4 separate regions of the Homo sapiens genome follow, and all the other regions are linked to region 3. The links are contacts of gene promoters, found by promoter capture Hi-C in human tissues and cell types (Jung and others, 2019). All regions are on one chromosome and are shown on one strand. Each heading gives the region's core, a stretch centred on a gene start or on the middle of the fragment in contact. The rest is flanking DNA. Distances are from core to core; before and after follow the strand shown.

Region 1 (2,706 bases), core at 136-2,635, 260 kb before region 3:
AATGCTAAAACCTCAACTGTTTCCACATCTGGCTGCTGGCAGAGTGAAGGGGAAGGAAAACCAAGACGACTCAAGTCCCTTTTGTTTTCCAGACTCCCAGAGGTGCATCTGGCAGGTGAACTTGGGCAGACACCCTGAGTCTGCCCAGCCACAGGGAGATCTGCCTGTGTAGCTGGGGCTTTGGAATGGGGTGGGACAGGGGCGGATGCTGATGTCAACCTGCCATGGATGGCTTATTAGCGTAGGTTACAATGATGATAGGGACGACGGTGTAACTGTAGGATGCATAATCATCGTCACTATTACATGTAATTGCAGGATTTGGAGCAGAGTAATTATCATGCAATATAATCAATTATATAATGAAATGTAATCTCAGACAGATCATCAACGACATAATTGTGTTATGCCCTCCAGGAAATGGAATATGCCTCTTTTTGAAGTTCCCGGGTGGTTCTGCCAGGATGGCTGGTGGTGGGAGAAGAAGGCAAGAGCCAAATGGGGTTAGGATGAGAGGGACAGTGATTGGGGTGGGGGTGTTTCAGGTGACAGTGGAAGGATAGTGATGGGCGTGAGAATAGTGTGAGAGTTTAGTCTGAGGTTGAGAGAAGTGAGGAGATGCAGGCGAATAAGTTGAAGAACAATGAGGTCAGGTTAGGGATTAGCAAACTGGATGAGGGCCAAATCTGACATCTGACTTTTTTTTTTTTTTGAAACGGAGTTTCACTCTTGTCGCCCAGGCTGGAGTGCAATGGCGCGATCTTGGCTCACTGCAACCTCTGCCTCCCGCATTCAAGCGATTCTCCTGCCTAGCCTCTGGAGTAGCTGGGATTACAGGTGTGTGCCACCATGCCCGGCTAATTTTTGTATTTTTAGTAAAGATGGGGTTTCACCATGTTGTCCAGGCTGGTCTCGAACTCCTGACCTCAGGTGATCCACCCGCCCCGGCCTCTTAAAGTGCTGGGATTACGGGCGTGAGCCACCACTCCTGGCCTCAAATCTGACTTGTTTTAAAAAAAATTTGGCAGGGCTGGGCACCGTGGCTCATGCCTGTAATCCCAGCACTTTGGGACTCACCTGAGGTCAGGAGTTCGAGACCAGCCTGACCAACATGGTGCAACCCTGCCTCTAATAAAAATACAAAAATTAGTCGGGCGTGGTGGCACACACCTGTAATCACAGGTACTCAGGAGGGTGAGGCAGGAGAATCACTTGAACCCAGGAGGCAGAGGTTGTGGTGAGCGGAGATCGTGCCACTGTGCTCCAGCCTGGGCGATAGAGCGAGTCTCCCTCTTAAAACAAGCAAACAAATAAAACAAACAAACAAAACCCCAAAAATTATTTGGCTGAACACGGAATCTGGAAAAAAAAATTTTTAAATTGAGGTAAGAATCAGACAACATAAAATTAACCAGATTAAAATGTCCAATTTGGTGGAATTTAGCACATTTGCAATGTCACACGACCATCACCTTTATCAATTTCCAGAACATTTTCATCCCCCTAAAAGGAGATCTCGTTTCTATCAGCAGTCACTCTCCACTCCCTCTCCCCCAGCCCCTGGCACCACCAATCTGCTTCCTGTCTCTATGTGTTCCCGGAAAGGGGTCCTGATCAAGACCCCAAGAGAGGGTTCTTGGATCTTGTGCAAGAAAGAAGTCAGGGAGGCCGGGCGCGGTGGCTCACGCCTGTAATCCCAGCACTTTGGGAGGCTGAGGTGGGCGGATCACGAGGTCAGGAGATTGAGACCATCCTGGCTAACGCAGTGAAACCCCGTCTCTGCTAAAAATACAAAAAAATTAGCCGGGTGTAGTGGCGGGCACCTGTAGTCCCAGCTACTCGGGAGGCTGAGGCAGGAGAATGGCATGAACCCAGGAGGCAGAGCTTGCAGTGAGCCGAGATTGCGCCACTGAGCTCCAGCCTGGGCAACAGAGCCAGACTCTGTCTCAAAAAAAAAAAAAAAAAAAAAAGAAAGAAGTCAGGGTGAGTCCATAGAGTAAGTGAAAGCAAGTTTATTAGGAAAGTAAAGGAATAAAGAATGGCTACTCCAGGCCAGACACAGTGGCTCACGCCTATAATCCTAGCACTTTGGGAAGCCAAGGTGGGTGGATCACGAGGTCAGGAGACTGAGACCATCCTGGCTAACACGGTGAAACCCTGTCTCTACTGAAAATACAAAAAATTAGCTGGGCATGGTGGTGAGCGCCTGTAGTCCCAGCTACTCGGGAGGCTGAGGCAGGAGAATGGCATGAACCCAGTGTCAGGCCTCTGAGCCCAAGCTAAGCCATCATATCCCCTGTGACCTGCATGTACACATCCAGATGGCCGGTTCCTGCCTTAACTGATGACATTGTCTTGTGAAATTCCTTCTCCTGGCTCATCCTGGCTCAAAAGCTCCCCTACTGAGCACCTTGTGACCCCCACTCTGCCCGCCAGAGAACAACCCCCCTTTGACTGTAATTTTCCTTTATCTACCCAAATCCTATAAAATGGCCCCACCCTTATCTCCCTTCAAGGACTCTCTTTTCAGACTCAGCCCACCTGCACCCAGGTGATTAAAAGCTTTATTGCTCACACAAAGCCTGTTTGGTGGTCTCTTCACACAGACACGCATGAAATTTGGTGCCGTGACTCAGATCGGGGGACCTTCCTTGGGAGATCAATCCCCTGTCCTCCTGTTCTTTGTTCCATAAGAAAGATCCACCT
Region 2 (2,700 bases), core at 78-2,577, 160 kb after region 3:
TCTCCTCCCGGACTTAACGGCCTACTGTCTCCCCTCTAGTATCCATTGAAACCTGGCCTAAGGTCCCAGACCTTCCTTTCAACTCCAAAGACCCATCCTCCCAGGCAGCCTTCCAGGCTGATCACTGTGCCTCCAACTCCGTCGTTCCTGTTCCGATCCCCATCACGGGCTGAGGGTGACCGTGTTTGTTTATGACCGCCCCCTCCACCCACACACCTCACTGAGGTGGTGGAAGTCTCCTGAGCCAGGCTCAGAGGCGGACAGTCACGGCAGGGGATGGGTTCAGCGGCAGCGCATTACGCTGCCACGAGAGGGCGCCAGCGTCCCGCAGACGACGCAGAGGCAACTCCCGCTGGAGAAACTCCATGCGACTTTTCTTTGGGGAAACTGAAGCCCAGAGAGAGGTCACGCCGTCCCGTGGCCACACCGCAGCTGTGGACCTGGGGGTGCCCGAGCGTCCCCTGCATTCAGCTCTGTGGCGGGACGGGGGCTGAGGATGACTGGAGCAGGCACAAGGGCTGCGGGGAAGGTAGGGTTTGCCAGAGGCTGAAAATTGGGAAGGGAACATCATTTCGTAGGTACCGCTCCTGGGCGAATGCGCCGAGGCGCGACCGAGTGACGGTATGTCAAGAGCAGGTTGATGACCCGGGAGCGAGGCTCTTGGAGGAGTCCAGCTGGGGCTGCACGATGATCCATGCACAACCTTCTGAGGTCAGGACTGATTTTTACTTTCTCCCGGCTCTACAGAGGTGGAAACTGAGGCTCCAAGAGGTTGTCATTTGCCCAGAGCCACCAGCTAAGCGGGACTTGAATCAGGAAAGGGGTGCAGCAGGCACCAGTGTGGAGGGCGGTCCCACCCACCTCCTCCACTTCTCCCTTTGCATAGCGGGGGAAACAGGCCTGGAACAGTCATAGGCTCTCTGGCCCTCAACTGGGGCGAGAGTCCCCCGCCCCAAATCGGGCTGGACATGCCTCGAGTCACGTCAACGAGGGGCGGCTGGTGAGTGATTAAGCCGAGAGGCTGAAGGCTCTGCTAGGTGACCTCAGGCCTGGGCCCTGCCTCTGCACCTCTTTTTTTCCTCTTTACCCCCGGGGTCCGCGAGAGACCAGCTCTGGCAGCCTAAGGGCTTCAGTTTCTCCCCGGGGTCCGCGAGGGAAGGGGGCAGCCGGCGGTGAGCAGGGGCGTTTGTTATTTTGCTCCACGCCTGGGCAGAGCCACGCCCCTTGTCGCGCTATTGGTGGAGTCCCTTCCCGGGGCGGGGAAGAGACGGTGACCCCACCCCCCCCCGCCCTGCCGTATAAAAGCGGCGCCGACGCACGGCGCGGGGATTTTCTGCTCCGGTTGGTGAGCGCGCCTGCGCGTTGACGGCGATTTTGCGTTCTGAGGCTGCAGCGTCGGCATCTTGAGCTGCCGGTTCGCGAGTTCGAGGCCAGGTTCCGCCTGTCGTGGGTTCGCACCCCGGACGCGATGCTATTCGACAAGGTGAAAGCGTTCTCGGTGCAGTTGGACGGCGCGACCGCGGGCGTCGAGCCCGTGTTTAGCGGCGGCCAGGCCGTGGCGGGCCGGGTGCTGCTGGAGCTGTCAAGCGCCGCGCGTGTGGGTGCCCTGAGGCTGCGCGCGCGGGGCCGCGCCCACGTGCACTGGACCGAGTCGCGCAGCGCGGGCTCGAGCACGGCTTACACGCAGAGCTACAGTGAACGCGTGGAGGTCGTGAGCCACCGCGCCACGCTCCTGGCGCCAGGTACGGATGGAGGACCCCTGCTCCAACACCAGTTGTGTGCCTCCCACCACCTGGACGGCGGTACCTCCGTCAGCCCTGGGACCCCAGCGCAACCGCTCAGTCGCCTCCTTTTTCTCCTACCTGCAGATACCGGGGAGACCACGACGCTGCCTCCTGGGCGCCATGAGTTCCTGTTCAGCTTCCAGCTGCCCCCGTAAGTCCTCTGGGGTGCAGGGTTGCCCTAAGCCTGCAGCCCCTTCCAGATTGGTACCTCCAATACTGGATATCTGGGCACCTCTGAGCCCCAAGACTCTCCCCCTGGGAGGCCCCCGGAGTGTCTGTGTCTCCTTCTCCCTGCCTGCTTGTCTCTGTATCTTGTCCCCTGAAGTCCCGTCCCTCCACCCTAGGACCCTGGTGACATCCTTCGAGGGCAAACACGGTAGTGTCCGCTACTGTATCAAGGCCACCCTGCACCGGCCCTGGGTCCCAGCACGCCGGGCAAGGAAGGTGTTCACTGTCATCGAGCCTGTGGACATCAACACGCCAGCCCTGCTGGTGAGTGGCCACCCTTGGGGAGGTAGGTTGGGAGTATTGTAGGAAGGGGCCTGCCTGGCTGCTGGGCGACACCAACCAATAAGATGGAGGTCATAGGTGGGCCCTGGCAGGGAGGGAGGCAGGTGTGGGAATGCGTGTGGAATCCACTGGGATCTGCACCCATTTGCCGTGTGACTCTGGGCAAGTGTCTTGAAGCCCTCTCTGAGCCTCAGATGCCTCTTCTGTGAAATAGACCAGAGCTAGGGCTTACCAAGTGTGAATTACACACCAAACACTTGGCTTATACATTTCATTTCTGGCTTTATAAGATGGGTTGTGTTCCTGGCTCTATTTAACGGATAGTTCCTGGATTGTTAAAAAGAAACCAAGCCCTGCCCAAAGTCCTCCCTCAGCTGGGGGTGGTTTGGAAGCTCCACAGCGACTG
Region 3 (2,814 bases), core at 148-2,647:
TTGTTTGTTTGTTTTTTTGAGACGGAGTCTCGCACTGTCACCCAGGCTGGAGTGCAGTCGCACGATCTTGGCTCACTGTAGCCTCTGCCTCCTGGGTTCAAGCGATTCTCATGCCTCAGCTTCCCAAGTGGCTGGGATTACAGGCGCGCACCACAGCGCCCAGCTAATTTTTGTATTTTTAGTAGAGACGGAGTTTCACCATGTTGGCCAGGCTGGTCTCAAACTCCTGGCCTCAGGTGATTCGCCTGCCTTGGCCTCCCAAAGTGCTGTGATTACACACGTGAGCCACATTGCCCAGCCTTTTTATTTATTTATTTATTTTGTAGGGGGGAGGACGGATTCTTGTTCTGTCTCCCAGGCTGGAGTGCAGTGGCATGATCTCGGCTCACTGCAAACTCCACCTCCCAGGTTCAAGCGATTCTCCTGCCTCAGCCTCCTGAGTAGCTGGAATTACAGGCACCCGCCACCAAACCTGGCTAATTTTTGTGTTTTTAGTAGAGATAGGGTTTCACCATGTTGACCAGGCTGATCTCGAACTCCTGACCTCCAGTGATCCGCTGGCCTCAGCCTCCCAAAGTGTTGGGATTAAAGGCATGAGCCACTGTGCCCAGCCCCAGTCGAGTTTAAAATAAGGCTTCAGTGGCAGTGGCGCCCCACTGCAATCCCAGCTACTCAGGGGGCTGAGGCAGCAGGATAGCTTGAGGCCAGGGGTTAGAGACCTGCCTGAACAACATAGCAAGACTCCCATCTCCAAAACAACAAAAAAATCTTAACAGAATATTATTATTCTGTAATACTGTAACAAAAAAAAATGAAAAGTCAGAGGTGATGTTTGGTCCCAGAAAACGCCATAGTTTTTTTGGTTTTTTAAAAATGTTTGTAGAAATGGAGGTCTGGCTATGTTGCCCAGGCTGGCCTTGAACTCCTGGCCTCAAGCTATCCTCCCGCCTCGGCATCCCCTGTTTATAATCCTCAACGTTCTGCATCCTGGTATGGTCGGGTACCCTGTGTCTGGACCGGGAAGGCCTGGAGGGTAGGGGCTGGGAACTCCGCCCCCCAATCCCTCCTTCCCAATCCCTCCTCCCCACCCCCAACCCCGCAGCCCCCGTCGCGCATGCGCAATGACTCCTCCAGGTCCGCAAGGCAGGCATCTCCCGGCCTTAGTCAAAGCCGAAGCCCAGAGAAGCGAGCGATCGGAGGATGCGAGTCTCGGCTCACGTCTGCCTCGCAGCTTTCCTCCGAGGCCTGGAAGGCGAGCTAGCCTTTGCCCTGGCAGCACCCTGCCCCAGCCCAGCCATCCCCCGCCACCACCATCCTCCCCCAGTGTCTGGGCCGAGCCCTGCGGCATCGCCAGCTCTTACCTAGCGGGCAGGGACCCTGGACTTTCGAAGGGCGGGCAGAGCCGGGAGGCAGCGAGAGGAAAGTCCCACTCGGCTCCTTCCTGTGTGGGCCCCTTGGTTTCCTGAGCCACTGTCATTTACCGAAAGTCAGGGCCCTGCGGGAGCTGGGGGCGGGGAGGCGGGCAAGGAGGGGCAGAAAGTTCCGGAAGCCTCTGCATCAGCCGCCCCGTTCAGACAGGCTGCTGGAGACCCCTAAGCCAAAGGAACTGATGATAGCACAGAGAAGGGTCTGGGTCACACCAGGGGCTCAGCCGACTCTAGACCCACTTGTTAAGTGGGGCTCTGGCCCGGCCCTTATTGCCTCAGTTTACCCATCTGTAGCATGTGTGAGTTGGGCACCCAGTGGAACTAATTTTGCACCCAGGGAAGGAAACCTGGCTGGATTTGCCCAGGAGGGAAGCAGGGAAGTTGCCCCAGAGGAAGGTCAAGTTCTTCTTTGAGGTATTTCTCCCTTAAGACTCAGGGAGACGCTGGGCGCAGTGGCTCACGCCTGTCATCCCAGCACTTTGGGAGACTGAGGCGGGCGATTACTTGAGGTCAGGAGTTTGAGACCAGCCTAGCCAACATGGCGAAACTCCGTCTCTACTAAAAATACAAAAATTAGCCAGGCGTGGTGGCCTGTAATCGCAGCACTTTGGGAGGCTGAGGCGGGCGGATCACTTGAAGTCAGGAGTTTGAGACCAGCCTGGCCAACATGATGAAACCCTGTCTCTACTAAAAACAGGAAAATTAGCCAGGCCTGGTGATGCCTGTAATCCTAGCTACTCAGGAGGCTGAGGTGGGAGGATTGCTTGAATCTAGGAGGCGGATGTTACAGTGAGACGAGATGGCGCCACTGCACTCCAGCCTGGCAACAGAGCGGGACTTCGTTTAAAAAAAAAAGAAAAGACTCAGGGAGAGATAATGACCCATTTCTGCCTGTGGTGCCCTGGGCCCAGCCCTAAAAAACCAGGTGGATCCGGCCTGGCCTCTTGGAACTTGTGATCTGGCGCTGAGACAATGAGCAAATGAAGGAGCCAAATCATCGCAGACAACAAAGAAAGCCAGGGTGTCAGGACAGGCACAGACTGGAACTTGGACCCGAGGCAGGACAGGGAGCTGGCCAGGGAAAGGGTGCTCCAGGAGGAGGGCACAGGATGGGCAAAGACCTTGAGAGGGCAGTGATCTTAGCAGCTTGAAGAGCAGTCAGGAGGCCAGGGGCAGGGGTGAGATGAGGGGGAAGGGGACTGCAGGGCGGTCAACAGGGGCAAGATCGTGGGGGGACAGGGGGATCAGGGTCTTTGGGAGAAGGGTGGGTTTTGCCTGGAGCATAATCTGGAGCCACAGGAGAGTTGGAAGTAGGAGCTGTTATAAATAGAAGAGGCAGAAGGCCCGGGCAGCATCCAAATGCAGAGACTTGGGCCAGTGTTCTTAG
Region 4 (2,700 bases), core at 119-2,618, 190 kb before region 3:
CACTTGTTCATCTGCTCTCTTGCCTCGGGCTCTTTCCAGGAGTTGTGACTTCAGCTTGTACCTCTTCCCACCTTCTGCAGCCAACCAGCCTCTATTTATCATTCGGGTCTCAGCATAGACGTGGGGTCCACAGCCCCTACCTTCCCTCCATCTTGTAACTAAAGGGTTAACATGGGGGGAGGGGTGGCCCTATGAGGAACACAGGCAGCACTCTTCTGTTCTGAAATATTGAGGGGGTGTTTGGTTTTTTTTTAAAGACAGGGTCTTGCTATATTGCCCAGACTGGTCTTGAACTCCTGGCCTCATGTGATCTTCCTGCTTCAGCCTCCTGAGTAGCTGGGACCACACACACAAGCCACCACACTCAGCTCCTGAAATAAATATATATATATATATTTTGTTTGTTTGTTTGTTTGAGACGGAGTTTCCCTTTTGTTGCCCAGGCTGGAGTGCAGTGGCGCAATCTCAGCTCACTGCAACCTCCACCTCCTGGGTTCAAGCGATTCTCCTGCCTCAGCCTTCCTAGTAGCTGGGATTACAGGTGCCCACCACCACACCCAATTAATTTTTTGTATTTTTAGTAGAGGTGGGGTTTCACTATGTTGGCCAGGCTGGTCTCGAACTCCTGACCTCAGGTGATCCACCCACCTCTGCCTCCCAAAGTGCTGGGATTACAGGCGTGAGCCACTGCATCCGGCTCTGAAATATTTTTTATTTTTTTCTTTTAGAGATGAGGTCTCACTACGTTGCCCAGGCTGGTCTCAAACTCCTGAGTGCAAGTGAGCCTCCCGCCTCGACCTCCCAAATTGCTGGGATTACAGGCATGAGCTCCTGAAATATTGTTGAAATAAATATTTTGGATATCACTTCTCTTTTTTTTTTTTTTTTTTTTTTTGAAATGGAGTCTCGCTCTGTCACCCAGGCTGGTGTGCAGTGGCGCGATCTCGGCTCACTGCCAGCTCCGCTTCCCGGGTTCACGCCATTCTCCTGCCTCAGCCTCCCGAGTAGCTGGGACTACAGGCGCCTGCAACCACAGCCGGCTAATTTTTTTGTACTTTCACTAGAGACGGGGTTTCACCATGTTAGCCAGGATGGTCTCGATCTCCTGACCTCGTGATCCACCCACCTCGGCCTCCCAAAGTGCTGGGATTACAGGCTTGAGCAACCACGCCCGGCCATCACTTCTCCTTAAGTGTCATCTCCTCCAGGGAGTTTTCCTGATTGCCTTGGATTAGTTTTATGCTTTTCCTATGAAACCCAGAGAGCCTTCCATGTGTCTTTTTCTTGTCATATTACTAGTTCCATAGTTTGTTTTTCTTGTATATCACATAGTTCCAATAGTAGCTGCTATTTTTTCAATTTAATTTCTTGACCTAGTGGAAGTTATCCAACAGCCTTTTCACTGTGTCCTCTTCCACCTGTCTCATTTAGAACCATATGTATGTACTGCTGAGTCAAAAAATAGATTTCTATTTTAAAACTGTTAAGAAATTTCGTTTGGTAATTTTGTGGCTCTGATATTTGATGGTCTAAACCTTTGGGAGTCTGTTTAGAATCTCCTCCTGCCAATCCCACTGCAGTTTGGAGGGTAACTCTGAAGAGCAACACAGCTGTCCCCAGCCCAGGGTGAGCTGAATGAAGGAATAAACGAATGGCCTCAACCCTGCTGCCCATCTAAACAGTCAGCTTGCCCCTGATGCTGATTGCTTCCCTTGATTCCTACTCCCCTACTGAGCCGGCCCCAGACCTTTCCCTAACCCTGACAATGACCTCCAATTTGGCCCTAAGCACTGACCCCTTTGCCTAACACCAATTCTAACCCTGACCTCTGATCTTTGATGGCTGAACTAACCCTGACCTTGATCCCTAACCATGACTTCAGCCCAGTTTCAGCCCTAGTTTTCTCTCCTCCCTCTAGATCTAGAAACCCCAGGCTGACATTGGGAAGGAGGCTGGGCTGGGGATGTGTGGGGCCAGACTTGGTGCATGGTTTGGGAGTTAGCATAGCCAGGCTGGTGTGGACGGGCCATGGGGATACCCTGGGCTGTGTGTGTATGTGGCTAAGGAAGGGTCAGAGTGGGTGGGGCATCGGTGACATTGGGTGAGGCCAGGCTGAATGAGGGTGGGGCCAGGGAAGGGCTCGAGTGGCTGGGGCATGGGCACAGTGTGGGCACTGCACTGGGCATGCCCAGGCTAGGCTTGGGTACGGGTGGGGTGTTGGGCGTGGCCAATATAGGTGTGGGTGTGGCCAAAACATGTGTGGGCCTGCCATTGGGCGTGGCCTGGCTAAGTGTGGCAGGGGCATGGCTGGGCGTGTCACTCACCTCCTGCAGCTGCATCCGCACCTTGTTGAAGGCACGCAGCCAGTTGGCCTTGGCCCTGGACATGGAGTCCTGCCCCTCCTGGCCTTCCTCATCCTCTCTCGGCCTGAAACTGAGGCAGGGAACGCTATGAGGCTCTGGGCTGGCTCTCCGTGACCCCTGAACTTCCCTTGACCCTCCAGCTGTGCAAGTGATGCATAGCTCCCCATGGTATCTCTGACCCCTCAGAGACATTAGGACCCACGTGAGTCCCCTGGCCCACCTCAGTGCCCCTCACCCCTTCCCACACACCCAATGCTTCTGTGACACTTCACTGTTCCTCGGCTTCCTTTTCACCAGCCCAGCCCCTCTGGCCCCCCATTTGCCCAGGATCTTGACC

What was found. The method cuts DNA at HindIII sites, captures the fragments that hold promoters and counts their contacts. A contact is called where the count stands out against the background at its distance.
Region 1: a fragment that was not itself captured here is called in contact with the fragment with the promoter of JAK3 in region 3 in 1 of the 25 tissues and cell types used here (aorta).
Region 2: the fragment with the promoter of ARRDC2 here is called in contact with the fragment with the promoter of JAK3 in region 3 in 2 of the 25 tissues and cell types used here (IMR-90 fibroblasts and lymphoblastoid cells).
Region 4: a contact is called between a fragment that was not itself captured here and the fragment with the promoter of JAK3 in region 3, in 1 of the 25 tissues and cell types used here (IMR-90 fibroblasts).

Annotation. Positions count from the first base shown.
Region 1 is chr19:17,591,308-17,594,013 of GRCh38, forward strand. No RefSeq gene overlaps it. Among named protein-coding and RNA genes, the nearest start is that of COLGALT1, 37 kb to the left of the region's middle. The HindIII fragment of the contact is 4,571 bases long and covers 1-2,706 here.
Region 2 is chr19:18,006,843-18,009,542 of GRCh38, forward strand. ARRDC2 (arrestin domain containing 2) reads left to right here and starts at 1,328. Exons shown (of 8, transcript NM_015683.2): 1 at 1,328-1,742; 2 at 1,869-1,935; 3 at 2,129-2,276. The coding sequence starts at 1,469. RefSeq lists an enhancer at 1,382-1,601. The HindIII fragment of the contact is 21,109 bases long and covers 1-2,513 here.
Region 3 is chr19:17,846,585-17,849,398 of GRCh38, forward strand. It overlaps JAK3 (Janus kinase 3), which reads right to left and starts at 1,398. Exons shown (of 24, transcript NM_000215.4): 1 at 1,362-1,398. The HindIII fragment of the contact is 13,300 bases long and covers 1-2,814 here.
Region 4 is chr19:17,652,950-17,655,649 of GRCh38, forward strand. It overlaps UNC13A (unc-13 homolog A), which reads right to left. Exons shown (of 44, transcript NM_001080421.3): 11 at 2,325-2,433. Among named protein-coding and RNA genes, the nearest start is that of UNC13A, 34 kb to the right of the region's middle. The HindIII fragment of the contact is 6,355 bases long and covers 1-2,700 here.